Linked DNA regions of Homo sapiens: region 1 is linked to region 2. Evidence: promoter capture Hi-C in 16 types of primary human blood cells and fetal thymus (Javierre and others, 2016). All regions are on one chromosome and are shown on one strand. Each heading gives the region's core, a stretch centred on a gene start or on the middle of the fragment in contact. The rest is flanking DNA. Distances are from core to core; before and after follow the strand shown. Region 1 holds the start of OR1J1 (olfactory receptor family 1 subfamily J member 1). Region 2 holds the start of NDUFA8 (NADH:ubiquinone oxidoreductase subunit A8).

Region 1 (4,418 bases), core at 1,744-4,243, 320 kb before region 2:
GGAGGCTGAGGCAGGAGAATCACTTGAACCCGGGAGGCAGAGGTTGCAGTGAGCCGGGATTGTGCCACTGCACTCCAGCCTGGTGACAGAGCAAGACTCCATCTCAACAAAAAATAAAAAATAAAATAAAATAAAAAATAGAGGGTGGATGGTGGGAGGAGGGAGAGATCAGGAAAAATAACGAATGGGTACTAAGCTTAATACCTGGGTGATGATGTATACATATGTAACAAACCTGCATGTTGTGCACATGTACCCTAGAACTTAAAGTATAATAATAAAAAAAAGAAGCAAATACATTTTCTTTCTAATAAAATTTGTTTTTAGATCCTTCAAAAGGATTCAACAGCCAAAAAAAAAAAAGAAATACCTGGGTGATGAAATAATCTGTACAACAAACCCCCATGACACAAGTTTACCTACGTAACAAACCTGCACTTATACCCTTGAACATAAAATACAAGTTAGAAAGAAATATGTTTTAACCTAAGGCCATAAACATAATCTATAAAGTTTTCTAATGATGTGAGGTAGGGATATAGTATTATTTTTCCTTTATTGATAGCCAACTTCCTCAGCACCACTTAATGAACAGTTCTTCCTTTTTACTACTTTATCACTGATTTATAATGCACTTTTGTCAATCTCATGGTCCTCATTATAAACATGTCTATTTCTAAGCTCTATATTTTTCTTCATTATTTTATTGGTTTATCCTTGCAAATATTTATTTGTTTTAATCACTTGCAAATATTTATTATTTGTAACAAGCTGTGATATGTTATAGTGAATCCCTGCCCTCTCTTTTTATTAAAAAAAAGAGTACTTTGATAAATATTGATGTGAGTTGAAAAATAAATCGCTTATAAGCTATTTCAGAGATGCTGAAAGAACAGAATTCCTGTTAAAATTACTTTTAGCTTTTAGATTGTATTTCTTTGAATGTGAGGCCATGTGGCAACTAAATAACATGGGGCCCCAGGATTGTTAGAGCAAAGCTGGTTCTTGAACTAAGCCCAGTAAAAGTTTTTTAATAAAGCTGTTATGATAAATTTAAATAGCTCTAACATTTTATTTGATCAACAAATTTATATAGAGTATGCATTAGTTGGTTATGATAGATTCTAGGTCTAATCTTTCAAGAAAAAGAGAAAGGAACATGGAAACATGAAAAAGAATAGACCAAAATAAGACATCCAGCTCATATCTTAACCTGAAGTATTATTTCCAAATATGTTGAGAAATTGTCTCGTCCTTCTGGTACTGGTATTTAGAATAGAGTAACAGCATCTGACAGCCTCGCTAATATCTGAATTTATTATGATGTGAAGTTTCCAAGTCTTTATGAATTTTTCGTAATTACACTATTAAATGTTTTAAAAGTGGTAGTGATTAAAGACTGAATTTAAGTTGTGTTTAATGCCTCATCAGTCAGTACCTTTGATATATTTCAAGATCAAGCAGGAATTTCTAATACAGCATCTGATGTCATATAGAAATGAGATACAAAACAATAAAACACAAAGGCCGAGAGACTGGAGGAGGAAATCCAAACTCATCAGCATTTTACTTACTCTGGCTTGACACAGTCAGTAAAATGCTTTGAAAGCCATCCTGGGGAAAAGACAAATTCTGAGTGGAACAATGAGATTTCAGTAGCATGGAGAAATTGATGAGATGGCTGAAATCCACTGAATGTGAAATCTCACTGAGCCAATGCTCCTTAGACATACTGTGAGAGGAATTCACCGCTGCGTCCCCAAGAGACATTGTCACATGTGTGGTTGAGCCTGGAGGAATATATATATGTTTTCGCGCTACACATTGATATTCAAACATAGAATTAAATATCTTACACTTATCTTAAACTTTAAAAAGATCAGAGCAATTAGGCTGGGTGCAGTGGCTCACACCTGTAACCCCAGCACTCTGGGAGGCTGAGGCGGGTGGATCATGAGGTCAGGAGTTCGAGACCAGCCTGACCAACATGGTGAAACTCCGTCTCTACTAAAAATAAAAAATTAGCTGGAAGAATCGCTTGAACCCAGGAGGCGGAGGTTACAGTGTGCCGAGATCTCACCACTGCACTCCAGCCTTGGCAACAGAGCGAGACTCTGTCTCAAACAAACAAACAAACAAAAAAAGATCAGAGCAATTATGTATGGATCTGAAACCATAAGAAAGATTTTCTATCTTGTTGCTTACTTCGTATTATGATTTATTTACCTGGACTTTCAACAGTACCACCCTCCCCACCTTCTAGAATAGTACATATATATCATGATAAAATATGTGGGTATGTCCTTTGAAAAATCACTCAAAATAACTTGTTTTGTTGTCTTTTGGAGTAATTGTTTACATGGAAGAGTTTTTTAATAAATAAAGTGTTATGTCTTAAAAAAAGATTAGGGGTCTATAAACAATGAATAAATTAGAAATAATCATGCACTGTGTAGACAAGCAGGGTATACAGAATTAAATAGGTCATTGCACACAAAATAAGGCAATGAGATTTCCAATGTCAAATAATTGCTTTGTTTCCACAGAAGAAACTATGGAGTCAAGATACTTCGGTCCAAATCCCAGCTTCTCCTCTTCCTATTGCTGTGACTATAAGACTGTCTGCCTTAGCTTTCACATCTAAAGAGTAGAAATAATAACAGTACCACCCAGCTCATATATTGAAGGCTATTGAATCACTTACAATACATCAGCTATTGGAACAGTGTATTAAAAAACATTTAGCAAACAACTTTTAGTACTATCATTTACAGAGACCAGATTCAGAAAGAAAGTAGCTATATCGACTAAACCTTCATTTCTTTTTCAGCACATTTGCAGCAAAATATGTGGCAAATGTAAGAAAATATGAAGACATTCTCTAAGTCAAAAGAACATCTCTATTATACTATGCCACAGTTATCATTTCTTATTCCAAGACATACCATTTTTTTCCTTCAAATTTCCCTAGTGCCCTCCAGCTGATATAAACATGAGCCCTGAGAACCAGAGCAGCGTGTCCGAGTTCCTCCTCCTGGGCCTCCCCATCCGGCCAGAGCAGCAGGCCGTGTTCTTCGCCCTGTTCCTGGGCATGTACCTGACCACGGTGCTGGGGAACCTGCTCATCATGCTGCTCATCCAGCTAGACTCTCACCTTCACACCCCCATGTACTTCTTCCTTAGCCACTTGGCCCTCACTGACATCTCCTTTTCATCTGTCACTGTCCCTAAGATGCTGATGAACATGCAGACTCAGCACCTAGCCGTCTTTTACAAGGGATGCATTTCACAGACATATTTTTTCATATTTTTTGCTGACTTAGACAGTTTCCTTATCACTTCAATGGCATATGACAGGTATGTGGCCATCTGTCATCCTCTACATTATGCCACCATCATGACTCAGAGCCAGTGTGTCATGCTGGTGGCTGGGTCCTGGGTCATCGCTTGTGCGTGTGCTCTTTTGCATACCCTCCTCCTGGCCCAGCTTTCCTTCTGTGCTGACCACATCATCCCTCACTACTTCTGTGACCTTGGTGCCCTGCTCAAGTTGTCCTGCTCAGACACCTCCCTCAATCAGTTAGCAATCTTTACAGCAGCATTGACAGCCATTATGCTTCCATTCCTGTGCATCCTGGTTTCTTATGGTCACATTGGGGTCACCATCCTCCAGATTCCCTCTACCAAGGGCATATGCAAAGCCTTGTCCACTTGTGGATCCCACCTCTCAGTGGTGACTATCTATTATCGGACAATTATTGGTCTCTATTTTCTTCCCCCATCCAGCAACACCAATGACAAGAACATAATTGCTTCAGTGATATACACAGCAGTCACTCCCATGTTGAACCCATTCATTTACAGTCTGAGAAATAAAGACATTAAGGGAGCCCTAAGAAAACTCTTGAGTAGGTCAGGCGCAGTGGCTCATGCCTGTAATCTCAACACTTTGGGAGGCTGAGGCAGACGGATCACCTGAGATCAGGAGTTCGAGACCAGCCTGGCCAACATGGCGAAACCCAGTCTCTACTAAAAATACAAAAAAATTAGCCGGGCATGGTGGTGCATGCCTATAGTCCCAGCTACTCGGGAGACTGAGGCAGAAGAATCACTTGAACCCAGGAGGCGGAGGTTGCAGTGAGCCAAGATCGTGCCACTGCACTCCAGCCTGGGTGACAGAGCAAGACTCTGTCAAAAAAAAGAAAAAAGAAAAAAAAATTATTGAGTAAAAAAAAACCATTATTCTAACTGATATTTACCTTTCTTTTAAAACATCCCATGTAATATTTTTCCTCAATAATACAGAAATACAAATTATTGAAAATATAGCTCACTTGTCTTTCTTCCACAGCTGTCACTCTGAAATGCTTTCCTGATATTATTATTGCATCTGTTTGAGGGAATAGTAAAATAGGATA
Region 2 (4,236 bases), core at 1,637-4,136:
TGTACCAATAGTTCACTCCTTTTTATTGCTGAGTAGTATTCCAATGAATGGATATACCACAATTAGTTTCTTCATTCCCCTGTTGATGACATTTGGGTTTGTTTCTAGTTTTGGTTATTATAAATAAGGCTGCTATGAGTACTTGTATACATGTCTTTGTGTATATATACACTTTCATTTCTGGGGTAAATACCTATAAGTGGAATGGCTGTTTAACTTTTCAAGAAACTGCCAAACTTTTCCAAAGCAGTCGTACCATTTGATGTTCCTATCAGCCATGGAGAGTCTACATAAACTTTTTAAACCAAACGTTAAATATCAACTTCCTACTGTATAGAGAGGTTACTCTATTCATTTAAACTCCAAGAGGAAAATATCCCCTCCCTAAATTAAAAAAAATTGATTGAGTATCTACCATTTGTAAATAACATCCATATATGATCATTACATATTCCTTGGAACACTGCTGCTGAATGTGCATTGCTTTCCCATTTTACAGATGAGGAAACTGAGGTATGGATGGTTAATTAAGTGTACAACAAGCAAATGGCAGACTTGAGCCCAGACCTGTCTCATCCTCTCATTACATGCTGAAATTTGAGATGCCCCAAATAGAATTCTAGTTAACTGTTGTTAAAAATACAAAATCAGTACAGAACAACACATGTCCAACTTATGAAAAGAAGTATAACAAGTGAAAAACTGCTGACTTCTTGCTAGTTATGGGAAATTGGGAAGCCCTGTTCAGGTCTGGGAATCCCTATCGTGGTTACAGAGGTACCAGACAACCTCAAGCAAAGCCCAAATTCCTAGGGCCAAAGCATGGAAATGGCTGATTCAGCACACAAACCCAATGAAAATACACAGAAGGCCAAAGGCAAATGGTTGAAAGCCTTCCGTCTTTTACCTTGTCTGTGTGTTTCTCTCTCACCCATATACAGCCCATCGAAAATTAATGTAGTTTCTCAACTTTTTGTGCCTAAAATGCCCAATACCCCATCTCTATCTGCCAAAATTCTACCACCTTCACTGTAGCAGAGCCTTGTGAAAAGTAAGAATGTGGTTTGGACAGAGGATTGGGTTCAAATCCTGACTCTGTTACTTCCTAGCTGTGTATCCATAATGGTGGGCCAGTCATTTTGCTTCTCCTAACTTCTGTTCCTTTATTTGCAAGGTCAGCCTGAACTATCTCACTGAGTAGTGAGAGGGAGTACACACCAAGCACCTCTGCCACTTACCTGCTGAGTAGGATAAGTGTCTCAAGCCCTGTAAGGGTCACCTTTCTTACCTGGAAAGATAATAACATCTTCCTTGCAAAATTGATGTAATGATTAGAGAGATAGCATCCCATAGCATTCCTACCACCCTCTCTAGGAATCTATCTCCTATCCCTGTCCAGACCACAGATCCCTCTTTCCTATTAACTCAGAATGCCCTGGAATTCCACCAACTTGTGAATACAGAGCCCCAAGGTGGGAGTGCTTCACAGTCCCGACAACTAGCACTGGTTCAGCAAACCACTTCATATCGTCCAGCCTTGGTTTCCTCAGCTATAAAAACAGAGATTCCACTTTCTTCATCCAGGGTGGTTGGCAAAAAAGAGTGGCCACCTCTGTGTTTCCTCTGCTTCTCTCTACTACAGCTCTTACCACACTGAATCGCAGTTATCTGTTATGTCTACTTGTCGCATCATGTTTGAATGAACTTTCTGAAGACAGGGATTGTGCCCAGAGTCAATTACAGGGCCTGGTACTCGGTAGCCACTCAACATTGTTGAATTGCTGGGCACGGTGGCTCATGCAAGAGGATCACTTGAGCCCAGGAGTATGAGACCAGCTTGGACAACATAGCAAGATGCCGTCTCTACAAAAGGCGTTGAAAAATTTGCTGGGGGTAGTGGTGCACACCGGTAGTCTCAGCTACTTGGGAGGCTGAGGTGGGAAGATTGTTTGAGCCTAGGGGGTTGAGGCTGCAGTAAGCAGTGAACAGGCCACTGCACTCCAGCCAGGGCAACAGAGCGAGATCTTGTCTGAAAATAAAACAAAAACGAGAGAGAAAGAAAGAAAGAGAGGAAGGTAGGAAGGAAGGAAGGAAGGAAAAAAGGAAGGAAGGAAGGAAGGAAAAGAAAAGAAAAAAAAACTGTTGAATTGTTTTTTACTACTAGTCCACTACAGTGATTTGTGTATATAATCCTCTATAATAATCCCTAGATCGTGAACTCCTCCTGGAAGGAAGCGACCGTGTAGATTCAGATTAGCCAGTCTCTCTTCCCTAATCTTCGTGTTTGTTTTTATAGCATTTACCATTATCTGTAATTATTTTATCACTTATTTGTTTATTGGCAATACATCTCCAACTGGATTATAAACTCCATAAGAGCAAGGATCTTGACATTTTAAATATTCTTATTCCTATGTTTAAAACTGGCAGATAGCACACACACACAGTCAATGCACACACACATATAAGTATATATGGAATGAATGCATCTTAGCTTTGCTGCTTATTAGATATGGTCCTTGAAAAAATTACTCGGGCAAGTTTGTGAAAGTGCCTGGCACAAGGTGTTTCGCAGAAGCAAAAAGCCGTCTTTTTCCAGTCACAGCTATTCAAGGTATAGTAAGTGAATCAAATGAGCCCCTTACCTCCCATCTACATATTCCCCGATATATTTGCTCCCTGTGTACTCCATGGCGCCTGTTTTTAGCTTCCAGCTGTTAGGATCCGGAGTCTCAGTGGATACGGCATCACTATGACAACCTGGAGGGGTGGGCGGAGCCGAATCGAAGCCCCACCCCGCTGGAGGCTGAAAAGTTCTTGGTATTGCGCACGCTCCCTCGCTCGTGGTTGGGCAGGGCAATACGCCTGCGTGTTGCCGGATGCGCATGCGCAGGCGCCGTGTGGCACTCGGCGGTCGAAAGGGGAGTTCAAGGAGACGGGGGCGACGCGGCTGAGGGCTTCTCGTCGGGGTCGGGGCTGCAGCCGTCATGCCGGGGATAGTGGAGCTGCCCACTCTAGAGGAGCTGAAAGTAGATGAGGTGAGGCTATCCGGAGGACAGGCAAGGGAGACATGGGGCTGCGGCTTCTCGGGCCTGGGCCTAGCCCCCCTTGGGCTCCGCGGATCCTGGGACCCGGGCCCCCCTCCCCAGTCCTCCAACGCATATACAGGTCGACCCCCGGAGGTCCCCTCCGCAGCTTTGGGAGTCGCCTCCCCTCTCTACCCCACCCTGTCGCATCTTGCAGTGGCTCTAGAATCCTCCCCCTTTCGCCCTCCACAGCGACCTATTTCTCCTTCCGTGAATAATAGTGATACATTTTATTAAGCACCAACCAGTCATTTTACTTAGCTTATGTCGCTTAATCCTCAAACTTGCATGCGAGGTGAGTATACAACCCTAGGGGCTCACAGTCGAGGGAGACGGTCATCTACCTTAAAGTGGTATCACCGGTGCAGAGTGCATAGAGTGGGGTGACGAAGCCGCGGGAAAATGAGACAATATTGGAGCGTGCATCTACTCACAGCCTTGGGAAGGTGTTTGGTAACAGGACCCATTTAAAGCATTCGTTTATTCAAGAGATATCATTTCAGTAATTAACGTGTACACATAACGCTGGAAGAGATATACTTCGTGCTTTCATGGACTTTACAATCCAGTAGGGAGACAGACACATAAAGAGGCAGTCACAGTACAATGTAGTTAGTGCTGTGAGGAGTGAAGTAGAAACATACCCTACTAATTATAGCTAACATGATCAAGTCCTTTCTAGATACCAGGCAGGATGCTAATTACTTTCCATGCATTAATTCATTGAATCCTCCCAGCAACACTATAAGGTAGGATATATATATATATACACACACATACACATATATATACACACACACAATTGGTGTGTATATATATATACCATATATATATATACACAATTGGTGTATATATATATATGTATATACCATATATATATACACACACACAATTGGTCATATATATATATATACACACACACACACAATTGGTCGTAGCGTTATAAATAAGGAATTAGTCCCCGAGAGTAGAAATGATTTGCCCAAGGTCACGGAGCTCGTAAGTAATAGAGCTGGAAGTGAACCCAAGTCTGATTTTAAAACCAATGCTTTTCCACTATATTATGGGTGAAAACTCACAAGAATGAGACGGCCTAGCAGAACTTGTGTGTTTAGGGAGCCAAGTACAGTTTGATGTGACCCTAGTGGTG

The links. Contacts are between HindIII fragments. The CHiCAGO score rates a contact against its expected background, and 5 or more counts as called.
Region 1: the fragment with the promoter of OR1J1 here is called in contact with the fragment with the promoter of NDUFA8 in region 2 in 4 of 17 cell types (M2 macrophages, M0 macrophages, M1 macrophages and 1 more); the score reaches 9.4 in M2 macrophages.

The regions. Positions count from the first base shown.
Region 1 is chr9:122,476,501-122,480,918 of GRCh38, reverse strand. OR1J1 (olfactory receptor family 1 subfamily J member 1) reads left to right here and starts at 2,993. Exons shown (of 1, transcript NM_001004451.1): 1 at 2,993-3,961. The coding sequence starts at 2,993. The coding sequence ends at 3,961. It also overlaps a transcript of OR1J2 not described here. The HindIII fragment of the contact is 5,266 bases long and covers 199-4,418 here.
Region 2 is chr9:122,158,429-122,162,664 of GRCh38, reverse strand. NDUFA8 (NADH:ubiquinone oxidoreductase subunit A8) reads left to right here and starts at 2,886. Exons shown (of 4, transcript NM_014222.3): 1 at 2,886-3,038. The coding sequence starts at 2,988. It overlaps MORN5 (MORN repeat containing 5), which reads right to left and starts at 2,757. Exons shown (of 5, transcript NM_198469.4): 1 at 2,646-2,757. The coding sequence starts at 2,692. RefSeq lists an enhancer at 2,681-2,975. The HindIII fragment of the contact is 8,418 bases long and covers 1-4,236 here.